Regions from separate parts of the Homo sapiens genome. Here regions 1, 2 and 4 are each linked to region 3. Evidence: promoter capture Hi-C in human tissues and cell types (Jung and others, 2019). All regions are on one chromosome and are shown on one strand. The core of a region is centred on a gene start or on the middle of the fragment in contact, and the rest is flanking DNA. Distances in the headings are between cores, read along the strand shown. Region 1 holds the start of NWD1 (NACHT and WD repeat domain containing 1). Region 2 holds the start of JAK3 (Janus kinase 3). Region 3 holds the start of DDA1 (DET1 and DDB1 associated 1). Region 4 holds the start of SLC5A5 (solute carrier family 5 member 5).

Region 1 (6,110 bases), core at 2-2,501, 590 kb after region 3:
CAGGCAGATTACTTGAGGCCAGGAGTTCGAGACCAGCCTGGCCAACATGGCGAAACCCCATCTCTACTAAAAATACAAAAATTAGCTGGCGCGGTGGCATGTACCTGTAATCCCAGCTACTCGGAAGCCTGAGGCAGGAGAATCGCTTGAACCCGGGAAGCAGAGGTTGCAGTGAGCCGAGATCGTGCCACTGCGCTCCAGCCTGGGCAACAGAGCAAGGCTCCATCTCAAAAAGAAAAAGTCTCGGCCAGGTGCGGTGGCTCACGCCTGTAATCCCAGCACTTTGGGAAGCCGAGGAGGGCAGATCATGAGGTCAGGAGATCGAGACCATCCTGGCTAACACGGTGAAACCCCGTCTCTACTAAAAATACAAAAAATTAGCCGGGCATGTGGCGGACACCTGTAGTCCCAGCTACTCAGGAGGCTGAGGCAGGAGAATGGTGTGAACCTGGGAGGCAGAGCTTGCAGTAACTGAGATCACGCCACTGCACTCCAGCCTAGTGACAGAGCGAGACTCCGTCTCAAAAAAAAAAAAGTCTCCCTAGACATTGCAATGTCCCCTAGGGGGCAGAATTCCCCTTACTCGAGAACCCCCTAGTCTAATGCATTTAGCTTATTTCAACCTCAGGGCCTTTGCACGTCCTGTACTTTAGTGCTCTATGCTGCATCTGTTCATGTTGTTCACATTTTAGCTTCAATGCTACCTCCTCCTGAGAGGCTGTCTCTGACCATCCCATTGCGTAGTGACCCCTTAAGTCACTCCCAATGCCATCGCCTTATTTTAATTTTCTGCATGGTACTCACCAACAGCTGATATGTTTCTACATGTTATTGTTTGTCTGTCCCACGAGAAAGTGAATTCCATGAGCCCAAGGATCTTGTCTGGTAAGGCTGGCGTGCCTGGCACATAGTAGGTGCTCAGTAAATTATCATCACAACAGCTTCCTCCACAACTGTTTCTCTTTCTGGACTTCTGTTTGTTGCTGAAGAAGACAGCTGAGCAGGACTGGGCTTCCCCAGTAAGGACAGAGGCCCTTTGCAGTGTCAGCGTTCTGGCTGTCCTGGGGGCTCCAGCCTCTCTTTAGCCTTTGCTGGTAGTTGAACGACCAATTTAGACTCCTCTGGGGAAATAGGTTAGAGAGGACAGTTTCCTGGCCTCGGCGCCACCCGGAAGACAAGCCCCTGGCTATCCTAGTAACTTTCGTCTTAGGTATTTTATGGGTCTCTCCTTGCCCAATTCTCCCAGCAACTGGGATAATGAAAGCGATTGTTTGCACTAGGGCACCAGCTTAGCCGGGCATTCAGCCCAGACTTAGTGGTTAACTATTGTGTGCCAGGCTGATACGGCTCCTCGTAAAAGATGCCATTTGCTGACAGTCTAGGAGGTGCAGTTGGTTGGCATTTGGCATTAGCAGTCCACATTATTACCCCAAGAGACAGACATTATGATCCTGTTTCACAGATGAAGAAAACAAGATGCAGAAAGGTGAAGTCCCTTGCCTGTGACGCTTCACTACTCTGCACTTGAATTTTCTCACTAACTTCCTGTGTTGGTGAGACAATGAAAAGCATTTATATAGAGAGTGAGACTAACACTACACCTACATCACAGGAAGGGCCCGTGAGATGTTAGCCATGATTAATTACCATTAAAACTCCAAGACCGGGCACGGTGGCTCATGCCTGTAATCCCAGCACTTTGGGAGGCCGAGGCAGGCGGATCACCTGAGGTCAGGCATTCAAGACCAGACTGGCCAATATGGTGAGACCCCTATCTCTACTAAAAATAGAAAAATTAGCTGGGCGTGGTGACGCATGCCTGTAATCCCAGCTACTTGGGAGGCTGAGGCACAAGAATTGTTTGAACCTGGGAGTTGGAGGTTGCAATGAGCCGAGATCCTGCCACTGCACTGCAGCCTGGGCGACAGAGCAAGACTTTGTCTCAAAAACTCACAAATCACCCGGGCATGGTGGCTCACGCTAGTAATCCCAGCACTTTGGGAGGCCAAGGCAGGCAGATCACGAGGTCAGGAGATCAAGACCATCCTGGCTAACACGGTGAAACCCCGTCTCTACAAAAAAAACAAAACAAAACAAAACAAAAAATTAGCTGGGCGTGGTGGTTTGCACCTGTAGTCCCAGCTACTCAGGAAGCTGAGGCAGGAGAATGGCATGAACCCGGGAGGTGGAGCTTGCAGTGAGCCGAGATCGCACCACTGCACTCCAGCCTGGGTGACAGAGCGAGACTTTGTCTCAAAAACTCACAAGTCACCCAGGCATGGTGGCTCACGCCAGTAATCCCAGCACTTTGGGAGGCCAAGGCAGGCAGATCACGAGGTCAGGAGATCAAGACCATCCTGGCTAACATGGTGAAACCCTGTCTCTACATAAAAAACAAAAAACAAAAAACAAAAAATTAGCTGGGCGTGGTGGTTTGCACCTGTAGTCCCAGCTACTCAGGAAGCTGAGGCAGGAGAATGGCATGAACCTGGGAGGTGGAGCTTGCAGTGAGCCGAGATTGCGCCACTGCACTCCAGCCTGGGCGACAGAGCAAGCCTCCATCTCAAAGAAAAAGTAATAATAATAGTGTTACTATATTTTCAGGGATAGAAGTTTCAGATACTTGGTCAGGCGCGGTGGCTCATGCCTGTAATCCCAGCACTTTGGGAGGCCGAGGTGGGCAAATCACCTGAGGTCAGGAATTTGAGACCAGCTTGGCCAATATGGTGAGACCCCATCTCTACTAAAAACAAAAATTAGCCAGGCATGGTGGCAGGTGCCTGTAATCCCAGCTACTTGGGAGGCTGAGGCAGGAGGATCACTTAAACCTGGGAGGCAGAGGTTGCAGTGAGCAGAGATTACGCCATTGCACTCCAGCCTGGACGACAGAGCCACACTACACTCCATCTCACAAAAAAAAAAAAAAAAGAAGTTTCAGGTGCTGCCAGGCACAGTGGCATGCTCCTGTAGTCCCAGCTACTGGGGAAGCCAAGGTGGGAGGATCACTCAAGGCCAGGAGTTCAAGACCAGCCTGGGCAACATAGTGAGACCCTCATCTCTACAACAACAACAATAACAAAAAATTAGCTGGGCGTGGTGGTGTGTGCCTGTAGTCCCAACTACTCGGGAGGTTGAGGTGGGAGGATTACTTGAGCCCAGAAAGTCAAGGCTGCAGTGAGATATGATTGCCTCACTGCACTCTAGCCTGGGCAACAGAGCAAAACCCTGTCTCTTTAAAACAAAAAAAGAAAAAGAAAAGAAAAGAAGTTTTAGGGGCTGAAATTTTAGGAAACATACTGTCTCCAATACTCCAAGCAATCTGGGGGCTTCAATTTACTATCCCAGTTCATTGATGATGAAAACAGGCTTCCAGACCAACGTGATGAAACCCTGTCTCTACTAAAAATACAAAAATTAGCTGGGCGTGGTGGTGAGCACCTGTAATCCCAGCTACTCGAGAGGCTGAGGCAGGAGAATCGCATGAACCCGGAAGGCGGAGGTTGCAGTGAGCCGAGATCACGCCATTGCACTCCAGCCTGGGTGACAAAGTGAGACTGCGTTTAAAAAAAAAAAGAAGAAGAAAGAAAATAGGCTTCAAAGAAGTTAAACAATTTCCCAAGTTTCCTTGGCAAGGAAGTGAGCTAACAGCCAAATTCGGATATGATTCCAAAACTCCACAGTTATTGGCTAAACTGGAATCTACAGATATTAAAAAATTATTGGCAAAGTTTTTGCAGTGTGACAATGGTATTGCGGTGAGGTTTTTGTTTTTATTTTTGTTTTTGTTTTCGAGACAGTTTTGCTCTTGTCATCCAGGCTGGAGTGCAATGGCATGATCTTGGCTTACTGCAACCTCCGCCTCCCACGTTCAAGCAATTCTCCTGTCTCACCCTCCCGAGTAGCTGGGATTAGAGGCACCTGCCACCACACCTGGCTAATATTTTGTATTTTTAGTAGAGACGGGGTTTCACCATGTTGTCCAGGCTGGTCTGGAACTCCTGACCTCAGGTGATGCACCCGCCTCGGCCTCCCAAAGTGCTGGGATTACAGGCATGAGCCACCATGCCCAGACTGGTTAGGCTTTTAAAGAGTCTGGGCCAGGTGCAGTGCCTCATGCCTGTTATCCCAGCAGTTTGGGAGGCCAAGGCAGGAGGATCACTTAAGCTCAGGAGTTCAAGACCAGACTGGCCAACATATTGAGACTCCATTTTTACAAAAAATTAAAAAATTAACTAGACATGGTGCATGTGCCAGTGGTCCCTGCTACTCTGAGGTGGAAGGATCACTTGAACCTGGGAAGTTGAGGCTGCAATGAGTCGTGATCACGCCACTGTGCTCCAGCTTGGGCAACAGAGTGAGACCCTGTCTCAAAAAAAAAAAAAAAAGAGTGTGTATGTTTTAGAGACATATAACAAAATATTTATGGAATGATAAGATAGCTGAGATTTGCTTCAAAATAATACCTGACAGGAAGGCAAATGGGATGGGGGCGGGGTTGGCGAGGTTGAGTAGGGGGTGATGGTGGTTAGGGTGGGCTGCGGTTCATTATACTATTCTGCCTACTTTAGTGAGTGTTTTAAATTCCCTATCAGAATATGCTTCAATTTTGTACTCTTAAAAAATAGTGGCTGGGGCCGGGCACACTCCCAGCACTTTGGGAGGCCCAGGCGGGATGATCACTTGAGGCCCAGAGTTTGAGACCAGCCTGGCCAACATGGTGAAATCCCATCTCTACTAAAAATACAAAAAAAAAAAAAAATTAGCCAGGCGTGGTGGTGCATGCCTGTAATCCCAGCTACTTGGGAGGCAGAAGCAGGAGAATTGCTCGAACCCAGGAGGCGGAAGTTGCAGTGAGCTGAGATCACACCACTGCACTCCAGCCTGGGGGACAGAGCAAGACTGTCTCAAAAAAAAAAAAAAATAGTGGCTGGGAATGTTGGCTGACGCCTGTAATCCCAGCATTTTGGGAGGCTGAGGCAGGTGGATTGCTTGAGCCCAGGAGTTCGAGACCAGCCTGGACAATATAGTGAGATCCCATATCTACAAAAAATAAAAATTCACCAGACTTGGTGGTGCATGCCTGTAGTCCCAGCTACTGGGCAGGCTGAGGTGGGAGGATCACTTGAGCCCAAGAGGTTGAGGCTGCAGTGAGCTATGACTGCACCACTGCACTCCAGCCTGGGTGACAGAGCAAGACCCTGTTTTAAAAAAAAAAAAAAAAATCGTGATTATCCTTATGCATTGAGTAACCACGAGCCCAGGGCTAGGGGATTTCTGTGTAGTCAACCTTAGAACCAACACAGGGGTTAGGAGTGCCAAGCTCACCCCTACAGTCAAAAATCTGCATGTAACTTTTGACTGCATGTAACACCTACTATTGACCAAAAGCCTTATTGATGACATAAATGGTCGATGAACACTGATTTTCTACATTCTATGTATTATATACTGTATTCTTGCAATAAGTAAGCTAGAGAAAAGCAAATGTCACTAAAAAAATTCTGGTGTTTTGTTTTTGTTTTGTTTTTTGTTTGTTTGTTTCATTATTTGAGATGGAGTCTCACTCTGTTGCCCAGGCTGGAGTGCAGTGGCATGACCTCAACTCACTGCAACCTCTGCCTCCTGGGTTCAAGCGATTCTCCTGCCTCAGCCTCTGAGTAGCTGGGATTACAGGCGCCCACCACCACGCCTGGCTAATTTTTGTATTTTTAGTAGAGGCAGGGTTTTGCCATGTTGGCTAGGCTGGTCTTGAACTCCTGGCCTCAGGTGATCCACCCGTCTTGGCCTCTAAAGTGCTGGGATTACAGGAGTGAGCCACTGTGCCCGTCCAAACTTCAAAGGAAGAGAAAACATATTTACTATGGATGAAGTGGAAGTGGATCATCACAAAAGTGTTCATCCTTGTCGTCTTCACCTTGAGCAGGCTAAGGAGAAGGAGAAGGAGGAAGAACAGAAGGAGGGCTTGGTCTTGCTGTCTCAGGGGTGGCAGGGGTGGAAAAAAATCCACGCCTGAGTACATCCGTACAGTTCAAACTCGTGTTGTTCAAGGGTCAACTGCACTTCCTTCGTCATCCCTGCGTGGCTAACATTATAATACCCACTTTGCAGAA
Region 2 (6,089 bases), core at 2,889-5,388, 540 kb before region 3:
TGCCCAGCTTTTCTTTTCTTTCTTTCTTTTTTTTTTTTTTTAGACGGAGTCTCACTCTGTCACCCAGGCTGGAGTGCAGTGGCCCGATCTTGGCTCACTGCAAGCTCCGCCTCCCTGGTTCACACCATTCTCCTGCCTCAGCCTGCTTTTTCTTTTCTTATTACAGTGGCTAACATCACCAGAACAATGTTGAATAGAGGTGGTGAAAATGGACATCCTTGTCTTGTTTCCAATCTCAGGAGGAAGTTATTCAGTCTTTTACCATTTTTGTTTTTGTTTTTGAGATGTAGTCTCGCTCTGTCGCCCAGGCTGGAGTACAGTGGCACTATCTTGGCTCCCTGCAACCTCTGCCTCCTGGACTCAAGCCATCCTCCCACTTCAGTCTTCCAAGTAGCTGAGACTACAGGTGCACACCACCATGCCTGGCTAATTTTTGTATGTTTTGTAGAGACGGATCTCACCATGTTGCCCAGGCTAATCTCCAACTCCTGAGCTCAAATGATCCTCCCATGTTGACTTCCCAAAGTGCTCAGATTACAGGCATGAGCCACCGTGCCTGGCCCTGCCTCACTGTACTCTTAATTTTCATTTGGCAAGTGAAGCTGAGGAAATTTTTCTGGGTTTAAGAGCTATTTGTCCTCCATTTTCTCTGACTTCTGGATTCATATCCACCTAACTGGTTGGCATTTTCTTACTGCTTTCTAGATGTTACTTATATAACGAGGATATTTTATCCATGAGTTCAATTTTGTTTCCAGTTACACTTTGATTGTATTTTATTCTTTGATTGTATTTATGGACTTCTTGTCAGCAGAAAAATCTGGGTGTTTGCATCACTGACGTGCCCCATTTTTCTCGGGCAAGTTCTGGGTTCTGTCCCCAGAACTTCCTTTTTTTAAAAAAAATTATTTATTTATTTATTTATTTTTTGATACGGAGTCTTGCTGTGTCGCCCAGGCTGGAGTGCAGTTGTGCGATCTCGGCTCACTGCAACCTCCGCCTCCCAGGTTCAAGTGATTCTCTTGCCTCAGCCTCCTGAGTAGCTGGGACTGCAGGCGCCCGCCACCACACCCAGCTGCGTTTTGTATTTTTAGTAGAGATGGGGTTTCACCAGGTTGGCAAGGCCGGTCTCGAACTCCTAACCTCAGGCGATCCGCCCGCCTCGGCCTCCCAAAGTGCTGGGATTATAGGCGTGAGCCACCGCGCCCGGCCAGAACTTCCTTTTAGAGCCTTCACATGCCCTTCTCTGGGGCTGAAGGTACCACTTTGGTCCTCACCCCAATCTCCTCTTACTTATTCTCAAAATATTGCAGAAACCATCACACTGGAGGTAGCAGAGACCCAGAAACTCACTGTACTTCCGGAAAGCAGAGGCTTCAGCCTCAGGCCAAGGATGAGAACATAAGGTTGCATTCCCGTCTGCTGAAGCCACCCAGGAAGTGAAAGAAAACACTACAACTAAGCTTCTGCTTGGCACTTCCTGCCGCAGGTCAGCTGTGGCTCCACTAAGCTCCACTAAGCTGAGGACATAATCTATATCTCTTTCCCTTGACCCACGCGGCCCTACCCACGCCATCAAATGAGTCTCAGCCCCCCGTGTCCCTGACATCCTGCTCTTCTCAGGAACACTGTGAATTCGTGAAGCCTCCAGGCCTTTGCCTGGGCTGTTCTGCCTGCCAGAACTGCCCACACTCCCACATTCTCAGGTCACTCTCTGGCTAGTCCCACTTGTTGTTGGATTTCAGAATCAAAGCCACCTCCTCCAGGAAGCCCTCCCAGATCCAGTCATCTCTCTTAGCAGACCGGTCCCAGGGGCAACTGATATAATTATTGGGCAATAGCTTGTTTATTGCCATCTCCCCTGCTGGACTGTCAGCTCCCCTGGACAGGGATTGGGTCTGCATTGTCCCCGATTCCCTGCACACAGGCTGTGTCCAATAAGCCTCTGGCTGATTGAACAGTTAAGATCAACAAAATACTTACCAAACCATTTTGTGTTAAGACTTGTGATGGTGATACAGAGATGAAAAGTCTTTTTTTTTTTTTTTTTGAGACGGGATCTCACTCCCATTGCCCAGGCTGGAGTGCAGTGGCATGACCACAGCTAACTGCAGCCTCAACTTCCTGGGCTCAGGTGATCCTCCCACCTCAGCCTCCCCTAGTAGCTGGGACTACAGGCACATGCCACCACATCCAGCTTATTATTTTGTTGTTGTTGTATTTTTTGTAGAGACAGGGTTTCACCATGTTGCCCAGGCTGGTCTCGAACACCTGGGCTCAAGCCATCCTCCTGCCTGAGCCTCCCAAAGTGCTGAGATTACAGGTGTGAGCCACTGTTCTTGGCCACAACTTCTTAAATCTATTCCTTTTTTTTTTTTTGAGACAGAGTATTGCTCCGTCGCCCAGGCTGGAGTGCGGTGGCACAATCTCAGCTCACTACAACCTCCGCCTGCCTCCTGGGTTCCAGTGATTCTCCTGCCTCAGCCTCCCAAGTAGCTGGGATTACAGGCACATGCCACCACGCCCAGCTAATTTTTATATTTTTAGTAGAGATGGGGTTTCACCATGTTGGCCAGGCTGGTCTCGAACTCCTAGGCTCAAGCAATCTTCCCACCTGGGCCTTCCAAAGTGCTGGAATTACAGATGTGAGCCACTGTACCCGGTCACCACTTCGTCAGTCTATTCCTGAAGCTCTACTTCCGGGGCTCTGATCCTATTATCCTAAGAACACTGGCCCAAGTCTCTGCATTTGGATGCTGCCCGGGCCTTCTGCCTCTTCTATTTATAACAGCTCCTACTTCCAACTCTCCTGTGGCTCCAGATTATGCTCCAGGCAAAACCCACCCTTCTCCCAAAGACCCTGATCCCCCTGTCCCCCCACGATCTTGCCCCTGTTGACCGCCCTGCAGTCCCCTTCCCCCTCATCTCACCCCTGCCCCTGGCCTCCTGACTGCTCTTCAAGCTGCTAAGATCACTGCCCTCTCAAGGTCTTTGCCCATCCTGTGCCCTCCTCCTGGAGCACCCTTTCCCTGGCCAGCTCCCTGTCCTGCCTCGGGTCCAAGTTCCAGTCTGTGCCTGTCCTGACACCCTGGCTTTCTTTGTTGTCTGCGATGATTTGGCTCCTTCATTTGCTCATTGTCTCAGCGCCAGATCACAAGTTCCAAGAGGCCAGGCCGGATCCACCTGGTTTTTTAGGGCTGGGCCCAGGGCACCACAGGCAGAAATGGGTCATTATCTCTCCCTGAGTCTTTTCTTTTTTTTTTAAACGAAGTCCCGCTCTGTTGCCAGGCTGGAGTGCAGTGGCGCCATCTCGTCTCACTGTAACATCCGCCTCCTAGATTCAAGCAATCCTCCCACCTCAGCCTCCTGAGTAGCTAGGATTACAGGCATCACCAGGCCTGGCTAATTTTCCTGTTTTTAGTAGAGACAGGGTTTCATCATGTTGGCCAGGCTGGTCTCAAACTCCTGACTTCAAGTGATCCGCCCGCCTCAGCCTCCCAAAGTGCTGCGATTACAGGCCACCACGCCTGGCTAATTTTTGTATTTTTAGTAGAGACGGAGTTTCGCCATGTTGGCTAGGCTGGTCTCAAACTCCTGACCTCAAGTAATCGCCCGCCTCAGTCTCCCAAAGTGCTGGGATGACAGGCGTGAGCCACTGCGCCCAGCGTCTCCCTGAGTCTTAAGGGAGAAATACCTCAAAGAAGAACTTGACCTTCCTCTGGGGCAACTTCCCTGCTTCCCTCCTGGGCAAATCCAGCCAGGTTTCCTTCCCTGGGTGCAAAATTAGTTCCACTGGGTGCCCAACTCACACATGCTACAGATGGGTAAACTGAGGCAATAAGGGCCGGGCCAGAGCCCCACTTAACAAGTGGGTCTAGAGTCGGCTGAGCCCCTGGTGTGACCCAGACCCTTCTCTGTGCTATCATCAGTTCCTTTGGCTTAGGGGTCTCCAGCAGCCTGTCTGAACGGGGCGGCTGATGCAGAGGCTTCCGGAACTTTCTGCCCCTCCTTGCCCGCCTCCCCGCCCCCAGCTCCCGCAGGGCCCTGACTTTCGGTAAATGACAGTGGCTCAGGAAACCAAGGGGCCCACACAGGAAGGAGCCGAGTGGGACTTTCCTCTCGCTGCCTCCCGGCTCTGCCCGCCCTTCGAAAGTCCAGGGTCCCTGCCCGCTAGGTAAGAGCTGGCGATGCCGCAGGGCTCGGCCCAGACACTGGGGGAGGATGGTGGTGGCGGGGGATGGCTGGGCTGGGGCAGGGTGCTGCCAGGGCAAAGGCTAGCTCGCCTTCCAGGCCTCGGAGGAAAGCTGCGAGGCAGACGTGAGCCGAGACTCGCATCCTCCGATCGCTCGCTTCTCTGGGCTTCGGCTTTGACTAAGGCCGGGAGATGCCTGCCTTGCGGACCTGGAGGAGTCATTGCGCATGCGCGACGGGGGCTGCGGGGTTGGGGGTGGGGAGGAGGGATTGGGAAGGAGGGATTGGGGGGCGGAGTTCCCAGCCCCTACCCTCCAGGCCTTCCCGGTCCAGACACAGGGTACCCGACCATACCAGGATGCAGAACGTTGAGGATTATAAACAGGGGATGCCGAGGCGGGAGGATAGCTTGAGGCCAGGAGTTCAAGGCCAGCCTGGGCAACATAGCCAGACCTCCATTTCTACAAACATTTTTAAAAAACCAAAAAAACTATGGCGTTTTCTGGGACCAAACATCACCTCTGACTTTTCATTTTTTTTTGTTACAGTATTACAGAATAATAATATTCTGTTAAGATTTTTTTGTTGTTTTGGAGATGGGAGTCTTGCTATGTTGTTCAGGCAGGTCTCTAACCCCTGGCCTCAAGCTATCCTGCTGCCTCAGCCCCCTGAGTAGCTGGGATTGCAGTGGGGCGCCACTGCCACTGAAGCCTTATTTTAAACTCGACTGGGGCTGGGCACAGTGGCTCATGCCTTTAATCCCAACACTTTGGGAGGCTGAGGCCAGCGGATCACTGGAGGTCAGGAGTTCGAGATCAGCCTGGTCAACATGGTGAAACCCTATCTCTACTAAAAACACAAAAATTAGCCAGGTTTGGTGGCGGGTGCCTGTAATTCCAGCTACTCAGGAGGCTGAGGCAGGAGAATCGCTTGAACCTGGGAGGTGGAGTTTGCAGTGAGCCGAGATCATGCCACTGCACTCCAGCCTGGGAGACAGAACAAGAATCCGTCCTCCCCCCTACAAAATAAATAAATAAATAAAAAGGCTGGGCAATGTGGCTCACGTGTGTAATCACAGCACTTTGGGAGGCCAAGGCAGGCGAATCACCTGAGGCCAGGAGTTTGAGACCAGCCTGGCCAACATGGTGAAACTCCGTCTCTACTAAAAATACAAAAATTAGCTGGGCGCTGTGGTGCGCGCCTGTAATCCCAGCCACTTGGGAAGCTGAGGCATGAGAATCGCTTGAACCCAGGAGGCAGAGGCTACAGTGAGCCAAGATCGTGCGACTGCACTCCAGCCTGGGTGACAGTGCGAGACTCCGTCTCAAAAAAACAAACAAACAAACCAAAAAACTTGATTGGCTGATGTTGAGGGGACGATAGAGAGGCTATGGTGTGTGATTTTATTTCTATAAAGGGCAAAACTAGACATCAATCTCTCTGTGGGAGAGATGGGGCTCCTCCAAGGTTCCCGGGACTAGGAATGTGCTCATTCTTGGTCTGGGCATCGGTGACATCAAAGTGTCCCTTTGGTAAGGTTCTTTCCCCCACAAGACTTCCCTTCCCACAGTAACCACCACACCGCTGTGCCAATTGCCCTTCCTGTTTGGTTTAACAGGCGTTTGTTGATCGCTTACCGGCACATCATCAAGAAATATACAAATTAATGCACATTAATTGAGTTGACACTTTAGGCCTGGATTGCGCTCAGCAGACCACCTCAATGAGGATGCTGGGGAGTCAGCCCATTTCACAGCTGCGAAAGCTGAGTCCTAGGGGTCCTAGTCCTCTGATTGTCTTAAACCTCATTAGGCCAGGCGCAGTTTCTCACGCCGGTAATCCCAGCACTTTGGGAGTCCGAGGCAGGAGGATCACTCGAGGTCAGGAGTTCCAGACCA
Region 3 (6,001 bases), core at 3,389-5,888:
CCTCTGTTCCAGCCAAGACCCCAATCGGGGGACACAAGCTGCCCCCAGGCCCCCTGGAAGTGACCAATTCCTCCCAGTCCCAGGAACACGCACTCACCGAGGCTTTGCACACGGAGTCCGCGTGAAATCGACTAAAATTGCTTTTGTTGTAGACAGGCAGTCCTTTCAAAAAATCTGCCTAGAAGACATGGAAGATGGTACATGAGAAAACAGGCAAGGGCCAGCTCATCCCTGGAGCACCTGCAGGGTGACTGCTGGGTTCCTTCTTCCCACTATTCTTTGTAGTTCAAGTTTTCCAGAACACACCCTTGAGCTGGCTGCTGGATACACTGTCGGGACCACAGAAAAGTAACCAGGCCAGGCTATGTGCACATCCCCCACGGGATCCTCATGACAGCCCCCTAATTAGGTGAGAGGTGGGGAAATTGAGGCTGCAAGAGAACAGGCCACTGGTTAAAAGTCATACCGCAGTGGCTCCCGCCTGAATCCCAGCACTTTGGGAGGCCGAGGCGGGCGCATCATCTGCGGTCAGGAGTTTGAGACCAGCCTGGCCAACATGGCAAAACCTCATCTCTACTAAAAATATAAAAATTAGGTGGGCGTGGTGGTGCGCGCCTATGATCCCAGCTACTCGGGAGGCTGAGGCTGGAGAATCGCTTGAACTCGGGAGGCAGAGGTTGCAGTGAGCCATGATTGTGCTACTACACTCCAGCCTGGGAGACGGAACCAGACTCTGTCTCAAAAAAAAAAAAAAAAAAAAAAAAAAAGCCATTTTCAATCCAACCCTGTGAGTGAGGTCTGGAGTGGGCCAGTGGTGGGACTGTCTGCTGCGAGTCTCTCCACATGGCTTGCCCTGAACGGGGCCCTCCTGAGCTCACTATGTATGATCTCCTGACCCAATGGGGCAGGAGGTAGTGTCTCCCTATCAAAGGCAAGGACACCGAGGCAGAGAGGTTACCCAGTCTCAGTCAGAAAACCAGGGGGCTGATTTGAACCCACATGTACCCCACCTCAGAAGCCAAGCTCCTTCTCTTCATCACACACCTGAAAAGCAAAAGCCAGAGCCCCTGCAGGCTACAGAGCTGGAAGGGAAGGCCATCCCCTGATGCCTGAGGCCCAAGAGAGCTGCCCTGGGAGAAGCTGCTATTCAGACAATTTCCCACCACCCTCTGGGACAGGCAGGAACAGCAGTGTCCCCAATTCTATGACATCTGGCCCCTCCTCTGCTGGTCCCTCTCGGGAAGCCGGAATGTGGCTGGGTGGGCCTCCCCCTCCCACCCGGGAGGCAGCCGTCACATCTGGATGACCTACTGCCCCAGGACCTGTTCAAAGTCCCTCAAACCTGCCTCCCCTCCCACCCTAGGATGCCAGCCTCAGCTCAGCACCCGGCTCTGGGGCCAGCTTCATTCATTCAGCAAGGTCTTCTGGGGCCCTAGCAGGCACCAGGGCACTGGACTGAGCCACCATGGCCACGCGCCTGGCCTTGAGATGGTGTGGGGCAAAGAGCTGCACAGTGCACAGGAAGCGGCTGCAGGACAGGGTGCCTCGAGGGCGCAGTGTGAGGTGCAAGGCAGAGCTCTGGCCCATTTAGGGGATAAAGGAGGGCTGCCCAGACGCAGGGATGCAGGCACTGAGACCTGAAGGGTGAGGAGGGGTCCCTGTCCCCCTTCGCAGCCCTGGCCCAGCTTGCCCCTGCTGGACTCCCATCATACACACCCTCTGCCACACACACCCTCTAGGAATGCCCCTCATGCCTCCATGTGGCAAATACCTGCTAACCTCCCCACCAGCTCCAACACCCTCCCTGGCCCCTTTGTTCCCCCGACACTTCGGGAGCCTCTCCCAGAGCCTCCCTCACACCCCGGCGAGGTCATCTGCTTACATGTCCACCTCCCTGGCTGGACTGGTACCTCCCCAAGGGAAGAGGACAGGACAGGGCTGACTGAACCCTGGCCGGGCTCACACAGGGCCCGGTGGCTGAGTGGCGAGAGGTGCAGGTACTCCGGGCATTCTGCTCTCAATCCTGGCTTAGCCCGTCCCTGGTTGTGTGACCTGGGACGAGGGACTTCCCAGCCTCTGGGCCTCCCTGTGAAGAGACGCATTCCAACAGGGCCACCTCCCAGGGTTACTCTGAGTCATAAGACAACAAGGGGAATGCTTTGCACAGAGCTCCCTCAGGGGCAGCCTTTAGGATCAACATGTCTGCGTTGGACAAATGAATGAAGGCAGGGTACGTGCAGCCTTCCTGTCATGCTAAGCTGGAAAACAAGGCCTCGAGACATGGGGGCAGGGGGTGGGGGAGGCCTCATTCCAGACAAATGCCAGCCACGGCTGGGCCCTCACAGGTGCCTCAGCAGACACGCACTGGACACCTGTGTGCCAGTCCCACTGCAGGTAGCCTGCCAGAGACCCAACAAAGAGATGAGAAAGAGAAGCAGTACACTAATAGCAGAGAACTGGGGGCCCCCCAAAGTCAGGAATGACCTCGATCACAGGAGGAAGAGTGTTCCGAGCAGAAAGAGCAGCAGGTGTAAAGGCCCTGGGGTAGCAGGAACCTGGAGTGTGAGGAAGTGAAAACAAGGCCAGGGTGGCTGAAGCTCACAGACAGAGTGGAGAAGAGAGTGGAGATAAGGTCATAGAGGTGGCCAGGGGCCTCAGGGTGAGGAGGGGAGCCGCCAGGGTTCCTGGAGCATTTTATAGGCTAGAAAGTGGTATCATTTGATGCACATCTTTAAAAGCTCCTTCTGGCCGGGCGCAGTGGCTCACACCTGTACTCCCAGCACTTTGGGAGTCCGAAGCGGGTGGATCACAAGGTCAGGAGTTCAAGACCAGCCTGGCCAATATGGTGAAAACCTGTCTCTACTAGAAATACAAAAATTAGCCGGGCATGGTGGTGGGTCCCACCTACTTGGGAGGCTGAGGCAGGAGAATGGCTTGAACCCAGGAGGCGGAGGTTCCAGTGAGCCGAGATCATGCCACTGCACTCCAGCCTGGGCGACAGAGCAAGACTCCATCTCAAAAGAAAAAAAAAAAACAACCTCCTTCTCAGGCCCCATGCAGTGCCTCACACCTGTAATACCAGCACTTTGGGAGGCTGAGGCAGGATCACTTGAGCCCAGGAGTTTGAGACCAGCCTGGGCAACATAGGGAATCCCCATCTCTCCAAAAAGTACAAAAATGAGCCTGGTGTGGGGATCTCTTGAGCCTCCAGTCTGGGCGCCAGAGTGAGACCCTGACTCCAAAAAAAAAGTTCCTTCTGGTTCAGGTGAATTATGAACTGCCAAAGGGGTGAGAGCAAGGCTAGGAGACCAGGGAAGAAGCTGGGACAGGTATGCAGGTGGGAAGTGGCAGTACCTGCAACAGGGCATGAAGCCATGGATGAATTCAGGTGTGTTCAGAAGGCAGAGACAATCTAATCCACTTATGATTGGCTGTAGGGATGAGACTGTACCAAGGTATCAAGGACAACTCCCAGGCTTGGGGACCCGCACACTAGGAACCCACCTTCCCATTTCCTTCCTGAAAGGGAGTCTTCCTTTCATCCCCACCACATCCCAAGGACTGTGGATTGTGGGCTGGGACTCTGGGTCAGGGGACAAAGGAGACTTGAGGTATCTTGACCAAGCTTCCCATCACCCTTCCCAGCCCTCAGGATGCCAACTAATGGGGGTTGTGGAGAGGCTTTAGTTCCACTCTGAGGGTGGGTCACCATCCCACTTTTCAGGTGGGGAGACTGAACCCCGAAGAACCACCAGACCCAAATTCCAGGATGACTGAGGAACCCTGAAGGAATTTCAACCTTCCAACAGCCAGGTGGGGACGATCCACACTTCATAATGAGGGGACAGCTAGAAGAGAACGTCACTGGCCTCGAGTCACCCAGCTCATCTGTTGAGCATTCACTATCCTGAGTCCTTTACGACGTCAGTTACCTAAATTGTCACCACCCTAAGAGGTTCAGACTACTGCTACCCTCATTTCACAGGGACAATCCATGCGGATCGGAGATAAAAGTTTTTCATTCTTAGAGGCGGGTAAGGGCCCAGAATGGTGGAGGTGGGGTCAGGGCCCGGGGAACCGGGACAATCGGCGATGTCGCACTTCCTTTGGCGACAAAGCCCTGCATATCGCGGTGCCAAGCCCCCTCCCCCGCCCCGGGGCCCAGGCCGGCCTCCCAAATTCTCCTGAACTGAAGAGATCCAGGTCCGGCGTGCTGAGAACGAGGCCAGACCAGGGGGTCTTACGGGACCCCATCCCCACCCCAGACGATTTCCGGGGGGAGCCGCAACCCGGAAATGAATGAGTTGTCAGGGCTTGGTATCCTGGATGGGGTCAGGGGTCGGAGAAGGAGTGGCAGTGGGATCAGCAGGAAGCTCTCGGTAGGGTCCGGGGGTCGAAGGTCACAGGTGAGTGGGAGGGGCGGGCCGGACCTGAGGGGACCGGGCAGAACGGAGAGGGGCCTAGGGGGATACTAGAGGTGGGTGGGACCACAGCGCCATTTTGTCTAGCAGAGGGGGAGTGGGGGCCTGGAGGCCATCCTCACCATCTTCTGTTTCCTCCGTCGCCGCCTCGGCCGCCGCCTCAGCCTCCACCGCCGCCACCAGAGCCGCCTTCTTAGCCGCCGCCTCACAGTAACTTCCAGCCACGGCACAGCCCACACTGATGGCGCCACCACCTCCCTGTCATTGGTGTGCAGTCTAGCCCCGCCCCCACATAGGAGCGCTTTGCACGCTTCCATTGGCCGCATCCAGCTAACTCATGCGCCCATTGGTTGCCACGCCTCCTCCCATTGTGGTCAAGTTCGGTTGAAGAAGCAAAGCACCTCCCGGTACTTGGAAGCAATGAAAGTGAGATCCGGAAGTGGGCGGAGGCCTCGGCCGCGAAGTCTCTTGGGAGCTGTAGTTTACAGCTCCGCGAGGCTCTCTAGAGCTTTTGTGTGTCTGTGTGTTTTTAAGATGCGAGGTTCGGCCGGGTGCGGTGGCTCACTCCTGTAATCTTAGCACTTTGGGAGGCCGAGGCGGGTAGATCGCCTGAGGTCAGCAGTTCGAGACCAGCCTGGCCAGCATGGTGAAACCCCATCTCTGCGCCTGTAATTCCAGCTAGTAGGGAGGCTGAGGCAGGAGAATCACTTGAACCCGGGAGGCGGAGGTTGCAGTGAGCCAAGATCGTGCCATTGCACTCCAGCCTGGGCAACAAGAGCGAAAATCAGTCTCAAAAAAAAAAAAAAAAAGCCAGCCGGGCGCAGTGGCTCACGCCTGTAATCCCAGCACTTTGGGAGGCCGACGCGGGTGGATCACGAGGTCAGGAGATCGAGACCGTCCTGGCTAACACGGTGAAACCACGTCTCTACTAAAAATACAAAAAATTAGCCGGGCGTGGTGGCGGACGCCTGTAGTCCCAGCTACTCCGGAGGCCGAAGCAGGACAACGGCGTGAACCGTGAGTGAGGCGGATCTTGCAGTGAGCTGAGATCGCGCCACTGCACTCCAGCCTGGCGGACAGAGGGAGACTCTGTCTCAAAAAAAAAAAGGCGGGGCACGGTGGCTCACGCCTGTAATCCCAGCAATCCCAGCACTTTGGGAAGCCGAGGCGGGCGGATCACGAGGTCAGGAGTTTGAGACCAGCCTGGCCAACATGGTGAAACCCCATCTCTACTAAAATACAAAAATTAGCCGGGCGTGGTGGCGGGCGCCTGTCATCCCAGCTACTCAAGAGGCTGAGGCAGGAGAATCGCTTAAAACCAGAAGGCGGAGGTGTCAGTCAGCCGAGATTAAGCCACTACAGTCCAGTCTGGGCAACAAGAGCTAAACTCCCTCTCAAAAGAAAAAAAAAAAAAAGACACAGGGGTCTTGCTATGTTTCCCAAGCTGGTCTCGAACTTCTGGCCTCAAGCAATCCTCCAGACTTGGCTTCCCAAAGTTCTGGGAGCCATCGTGCCGGCATCTTCTTGTGTTTATTACGTTTTTAAAGCAGCCCTAGAAGATAAGAACCATAACACTCCCT
Region 4 (5,894 bases), core at 2,712-5,211, 560 kb before region 3:
CCTGGCCTTCAGTGGTGCCTAGGACTGATGCCCTTCTATGCCTCAGTCTCCTCCTCTCTAAAGTGGGATTAATAATAATACCTTCTTACTGTGTTGTTGTAAGAATTAAGTTAGTTATTTTATTTTTAAAGAAAAGGTTTCTGTCTTTTGCCCAGGCTGGAGTGCAGTGGTGTGATCACAGCTCACTGCAGACTGGAACTCTTAGGCTCAAGTGATCCTCCTGCCTCAGCCTCCGGAGTAGCTGGAGCTACAGCAGGTGCCACCATGCCCGACTAATTTAAAAAAAATTTTTTTTGTAGAGATGGGGGCGGGGGGGGGTCTCACTATGTTGCCTAGGCTGGTCTCGAACCCCTGGCCTCAAGTGATCCTCCTACCTTGGCCTCTCAAAGTGCTGGGATTACAGGTATGAGCCACTGTGCCCAGTAGAATTAAACAAGTTAATAAGTGAAAAAGATTTGGAATATGACTTGACATATACGAGTGTCAGTGAGTGATTGCTGCCATTACTATTATTATTATTATTATTATATTTTTTTGAGATGGAGTCTTGCTCTGTCGCCCAGGCTGGAGTGCAATGGCGCAATCTCCACGCACCGCAACCTCCACCTCCCGGGTTCAAGCGATTCTCCTGCCTCAGCCTCCTGAGAGGCTAGGATTACAGGCGCGTGCCACTGCGCCCAGGTAATTTTTGTATTCTTAGTAGAGACGGGGTTTCATCATGTTGGCCAGGCTGGTCTCGAACTCCTGACCTTAGGTGATCCGCCTGCCTCTGCTTCCCAAAGTGCTGGGATTACAGACGTGAGCCACCGCGCCCGGCCGCCATTACTATTATTATCACTACGATGATAATATCGCCATCAAGGTCAGACCTGAGCCAGCCAAAGGTAGCCCTCCCTGGGACCTCAGCCAGCCCCAGGATGAAGCAGGAGCTCACTTCCTGCTGGACTGGAAGCCAGAAGAGGTGGAAGCCTGGATCCAGCCATGCCTGAAGCTACCATACCTCTAGATTCTCAGCAATAAGCTTTTCAGATCATTTTTCACTATAAAGATGAGGACACTGGGTCCCAGCTGGGACAGAGGCTTCCTCAGGAGAAAGGGGCAAGCCCAGAGTCTCCCCACAAGAGACACAGTGGGCCCGATCCCCCGTATGGAGTGAGTTCCCAGGGCCACTCACCACAGCCGTGTAGAAGGTGCAGATAATTCCGGTGGACAGGAGCGACGCCCAGATGTCCAGCCCGGTCACTATGCAAAAAGAGGTCCCCCTGTTAGGCCCCTGGGCGGGGCGCAAACTTAGTCTTGGGTTCTCCTCTCCCTCCCTTTCTCTTCCCAGACATGCTTCCCTAATCTCCCAGAGTCACACCTTGGTTCAGGATGAGGGCCGGTGCGTAGATTACGATGCCGGTGTACAGCATCTGTAGACAGAGTGTGGGGCGGGTGAGCAGGGAGGGCGTCTGGGCGAGTTGGGGATGGGGAGAGGAGGCAGAAGGGTGGTCCCAGAATATGGGCGGGGCAGATAGGCCGGGTCTTCCAGAGTGCAGGCGGGGTCAGGCCGGCTGTGGTGTGGGAGGGGACTGATGGGGGCGGGGTCAGAACGGGAGCATGGGGGGCGGGGTCTGGGCGGGGTCTTGAATGGTGGGGGCCGGGCTAGTGAAGGCTGACGCTCTCGGGGCCCTGAGCGGAGGGCGGGGCCGAGGCCACTCACCGTGGCTACAATGTACTGCAAAGTCCCGCAGAGCCGCACTGCGCGGCTGAAGCGCATCTCCAGGTACTGCAAGGAGGGACTCGAGGTCACCTGGACAGTCCTTACCCAGGAGCCGAGGCCTCTCGGGTCCCTGGTCTGCTCTCTAGGTGGGCCCCTCCCTCCGGAAGCCAACCGCGCCCGCCAGATTCTTGCACGTGGGGGCCCCGCCGCACGCACACACCCGTGCACAGGTGCCATCCCGTGCCTGTGCGTACCCCGTGGACCTGGAGGACTGGTCCATGCGTGTGCACGCGCCCTCCCACTTGCGCCTGACGGGCGCGGGCTCCTGGAGCAGCCACCGCTCAGCAGACACCGACGTGGCCCGCAAGCGCACAGTGTAGACAGTGCCCCGGGCCAATGGTGTTGGCCGCCTAGGATATACCTGTCACGATTTTTTTGGGGGGGAGGGGGGACGGAGTCTCGCTCTGTCGCCCAGGCTAGGGTGCACTGGCACGATCTCGGCTCACTGCAACCTCCGCCTCCCAGGTTCAAGCAATTCTTCTGCCTCAGCCTCCTGAGTAGCTGGGATTACAGGCGCGCGCGACCATGCCCGGCTAATTTTTGTATTTTTAGTAAAGACGGGGTTTCACCATGTTAGCCAGGCTGGTCTTGAACTCCTGACCTCGTGATCCACCCACCTCGGCCTCCCAAAGTGCTGGGATTACAGGCGTGAGCCACTGCGCCCTGCCACAATATTTTTTTTTCCTTTGAGACAAGAGTCTCGCTCTGTCGCCCAGGCTGGAGTGCAGTGACGCGATATCGGCTCACTGCAACCTCCCGGGTTCAAGCAATTCTCCTGTCTTAGCCTCCCAAGTAGCTGGGATTACAGGTGCCCACCACCACATCCGGCTAATTTTTGTATTTTTAGTAGAGACGGGGTTTCGCCATGTTGGCCAGGCTGGTCTTGAACTCCTGACCTCAGGTGATCTGCATGCTTTGGCCTCCCAAAGTGCTGGGATTACAGGCGTGAGCCACCGCACCGGGCCCCGGTCACGATTTTAATCGCTTTACCCTCTCCCCTGGAGGGAGGTCCTGTAATTCGCCCATTGGACAGCTGGGAAACCCAAACAGAGAGGCACGCCCCTTGCCCAAGATACAAGAAAGCAGTGAAGCCAGGTTTCGAACCCCGGAGCCGTCAGCAGTCCCCTCTAGCGCGCACACGTGGGTCTGCACGCCCGGGCAGGTGGGGGGCAGGTGTGTGTCCACCCGTGAGGACACACCTGGTCGAGCCGGGCCCCGCCCCGCGCGCGCTTCCACCGAAGGAGCAGGACGCCAGGCTCTCTCTTCCTCCTTCCTGCCCCTCGCCGGGCGCCTGGGGCCTCTTCCTAGAACCCTCCCCACGTGTCTGCCTAGGGGCCCCTTCCGTTAAAGCACCGAGGTGCCATCCGCGTCCTCCTGTACAGCGGCCCAAAGCCCCAGCGCCTCCCCCACACGGGGTCCCAGCACTGCCAGTGGGGCAGGTCCTACCCCCGGGCCTCTGTCCGGTACCTCGTAGGTGCTGGTGAGGCCCAGGCGGTAGAAGACGGGCATGAAGAGCAGGGCGGTGAGGACCGAGTTCAGAAGCTGGCCCAGGCACATCCAGAGGAACTTGAGGCCATAGCGATAGGCCTCCGACGGCACGCCCAGCACCTGCACGGCCGACATGAAGCTGGCAGACAGCGACAGGCCCACGGGCAGGGCCGCCAGGCGCCGGCCCCCGGTGAAGAAGTCCTCAGCGCTGCGCTGCCCGCCCCGAGCCAGCCCGACCCACAGCCCGATGCCAGTGGACACCAGGAGCATGAGGGCAAAGACCCCGTAGTCCCAGGCTCCGAAGGTGGGCCGTTCCCCGGTCTCCACGGCCTCCATGAGGGCGGGTGCGGAGGCCCAGCGCGTCCTCGGACGCCCTGCGTGCTCAAGCGGGGGAAGCTGGCAGGGGCCGAGGAGGCAGGACGGGGAGGGCGGGTGGGAGGATGCTCGGCAGCCTGTCCCCGCTCCGTCTGGGGTGGGAAGCGGCGAGAGGGGCCGGGGCTCCCTGGGTTAGGAATCTATGGGCTGTCGATGTCCGTGTCGGCCTCCCTGTCCCCGCTGTCTGTCTCTGCGTCCGCCCCTGCTGTCTGTCTGTCCTGCCACCTCCCCTCTCACTCTGGGTTCCGCTGTCCCATGCAGCCGGCTGTCTGTCCCTCTCCCTGGGCGCTGTGCTCAGCGCTGACAGCTGGAGGTCGCCTTGGGGCTTACGGGAGCAGCTCGTGATTGTGGGTTGCAGATTTATTGGGCTCCCGGGTCACCGCGACTCCGCCTCCAGACCTAGGGGCGGGCAGGACCCGCACCCTTTCAGCCCTGGACTGGGACAGACAGGCCAGGACAGGCTATCTGGGTGGCTGCAGGGGGTGGTATCGGGGAGGGCTCCCAAATGCCCCTCCATCCCCATGCACCCACCCATCCCCATGCACTGTGATCCCCTGATCACAGCTGTCACTGTCTGCTGTTGACAGGTGGGGAAATTGAGGCTCAGAGAGGGCATGTCACTATCCAAGCCTGCACAGCCTGCTTCAGCACTCAAAGCCGTATTGTGCTTGAATACCTTGAGCTATGGGGAGCTCACTTTCATGCAGGACTGGGGTTCACTTTCAGGGTTTCAGGGGACCCATAAAGAAAACTTACCTGGCTTTACCACCCCCAAACTGGCATGTGGGCCTACCCCCTTTCTCTAGAGCCTTAGGGGGTGGGCATCACTGAACCCCGCTCTTGGGCTAAGCTGGGTGGGAGACATTCAGAGCTCAAGTTCTGAGTGGGTACATACTTGGGGAAGACTTTGCTCCTCCCTGGGCCTTAGTTTCCCCATCTGTAACAAGGATAAAATAGACCCTGCCTCAGAGGAATAAATGGGACGTGGTAACGAAAGCCTGGTACATGATAAGTGCCTCATTCATTTATTCCTTTATTCATTTGTCACTTCATTCATTCATTCATTGGTTCCTTTGCAGATATGCACTGAGAGTTGGCCCTGTGCCAGGCATAAATGGCTCACTGAGGTGGTGCGAGGGGCCTTTAAGGTTATGAACCCGAATAAGCGGAGACCATGACCACCAGGGAGGTAGAGTCTGGCTTGTCCCTATCATATAGATGAGGAAACCAAGGTTGGGTGTGGGAGAAAGTCTACTGGGGGGGTCACGCTTCCATGAGGACCAACGAGCTGTCATCTCAGGGCCCTTCTCTGGGGGACCCAGGAGGACTTTGACCTCTGGAGGTTCTGGTCTCTGGGTTCAAGTCTCAGCTCAGCCTCCAACTTTCTGGGCAATCACGCATCTCAAACTTGGTTCCCTTCTCCATAAGCTGGTGGAATCTGAAATCCTGGGGGTTGAAAGAAACAGCGTCAGAGGCCGGGCATGATGGCTTATGCCTGTAATCCCAGCACTTTGGGAGGCTGAAGTGGGAGGATCATTTGAGTCCCAGAATTCGAGACTACCCTGAGCAACATAGTGAGATCTTGTCTGTATGAAAAATACAAATATTAGCGAGGCGTGGTGGCACATGCCTGTAATCCCAGCTACTCAGGAGGCTGAAGTGGGAGGATCGCTTGAGCGTGGAAGTTCGAGGCTGCAATGAGCTGTGGTCGAGAACTGCACAGCACTCCAGCCTGGGCAGCACAGCAAGACCCCGTCTCCAAAAAAAAAAAAAAAAAAAAAAAAAGGGCTTTTGAGCGCTTCTCGCCAGCCTCTGCTGCTCCCTGGTGGCCTCCTCTGGCCTACCCTCTGCCCTGGCCGCTCCAGCTGGGTCCAGCGTTTCTCAACGCGTCCCCACGTAACCCCCGGACAGTCCTCTTGCTCCCTCTCTGCTGTGCAGGGTGGACCTGTCCCTCCCCCGGGGCTGTGACACTGCGGCGGCTACGCGGGCACCTGTTGCCGGCTGGAGCGTACCTCCTGCCCTCGCCAGGAGAGTGGGTTAGGCACCTAGTTCTTTCTCCTTCCACCCTGGTCAGGCATCCTCCTGGAAACCCCGTTGGAAAAGGGGAGATCCGGCCGGGTGCGGTGTCTCACTCCTGTAATCCCAGCACTTTGGGGGGCCGAGGCGGACGGGTCTCTTGAGATCCGTTCAAGACCAGTCTGGCCAACATGGTGAAACCCCGTCTCTACTAAAAATACAAGAATTAGCCGGGCGTGGTGGCGGCCGCCTG

Evidence for each region. The method cuts DNA at HindIII sites, captures the fragments that hold promoters and counts their contacts. A contact is called where the count stands out against the background at its distance.
Region 1: the fragment with the promoter of NWD1 here is called in contact with the fragment with the promoter of DDA1 in region 3 in 2 of the 25 tissues and cell types used here (dorsolateral prefrontal cortex and hippocampus).
Region 2: a contact is called between the fragment with the promoter of JAK3 here and the fragment with the promoter of DDA1 in region 3, in 3 of the 25 tissues and cell types used here (H1 embryonic stem cells, mesendoderm cells and spleen).
Region 4: the fragment with the promoter of SLC5A5 here is called in contact with the fragment with the promoter of DDA1 in region 3 in 1 of the 25 tissues and cell types used here (mesenchymal stem cells).

What each region holds. Positions count from the first base shown.
Region 1 is chr19:16,714,988-16,721,097 of GRCh38, reverse strand. NWD1 (NACHT and WD repeat domain containing 1) reads right to left here and starts at 1,251. Exons shown (of 19, transcript NM_001007525.5): 1 at 805-1,251. The HindIII fragment of the contact is 25,691 bases long and covers 1-6,110 here.
Region 2 is chr19:17,846,031-17,852,119 of GRCh38, reverse strand. It overlaps JAK3 (Janus kinase 3), which reads left to right and starts at 4,138. Exons shown (of 24, transcript NM_000215.4): 1 at 4,138-4,174. The HindIII fragment of the contact is 13,300 bases long and covers 1-6,089 here.
Region 3 is chr19:17,308,200-17,314,200 of GRCh38, reverse strand. It overlaps DDA1 (DET1 and DDB1 associated 1), which reads right to left and starts at 4,638. Exons shown (of 5, transcript NM_024050.6): 1 at 4,544-4,638; 2 at 98-178. The coding sequence starts at 4,546. RefSeq lists enhancers at 983-1,483, 1,484-1,984, 4,210-4,773, 4,863-5,052, 4,774-5,335 and a silencer at 4,323-4,422. The HindIII fragment of the contact is 11,596 bases long and covers 1-6,001 here.
Region 4 is chr19:17,870,012-17,875,905 of GRCh38, reverse strand. SLC5A5 (solute carrier family 5 member 5) reads right to left here and starts at 3,961. Exons shown (of 15, transcript NM_000453.3): 1 at 3,230-3,961; 2 at 1,703-1,768; 3 at 1,361-1,412; 4 at 1,175-1,242. The coding sequence starts at 3,586. RefSeq lists a silencer at 1,497-1,626 and enhancers at 1,419-2,191, 5,839-5,894. The HindIII fragment of the contact is 15,663 bases long and covers 1-5,894 here.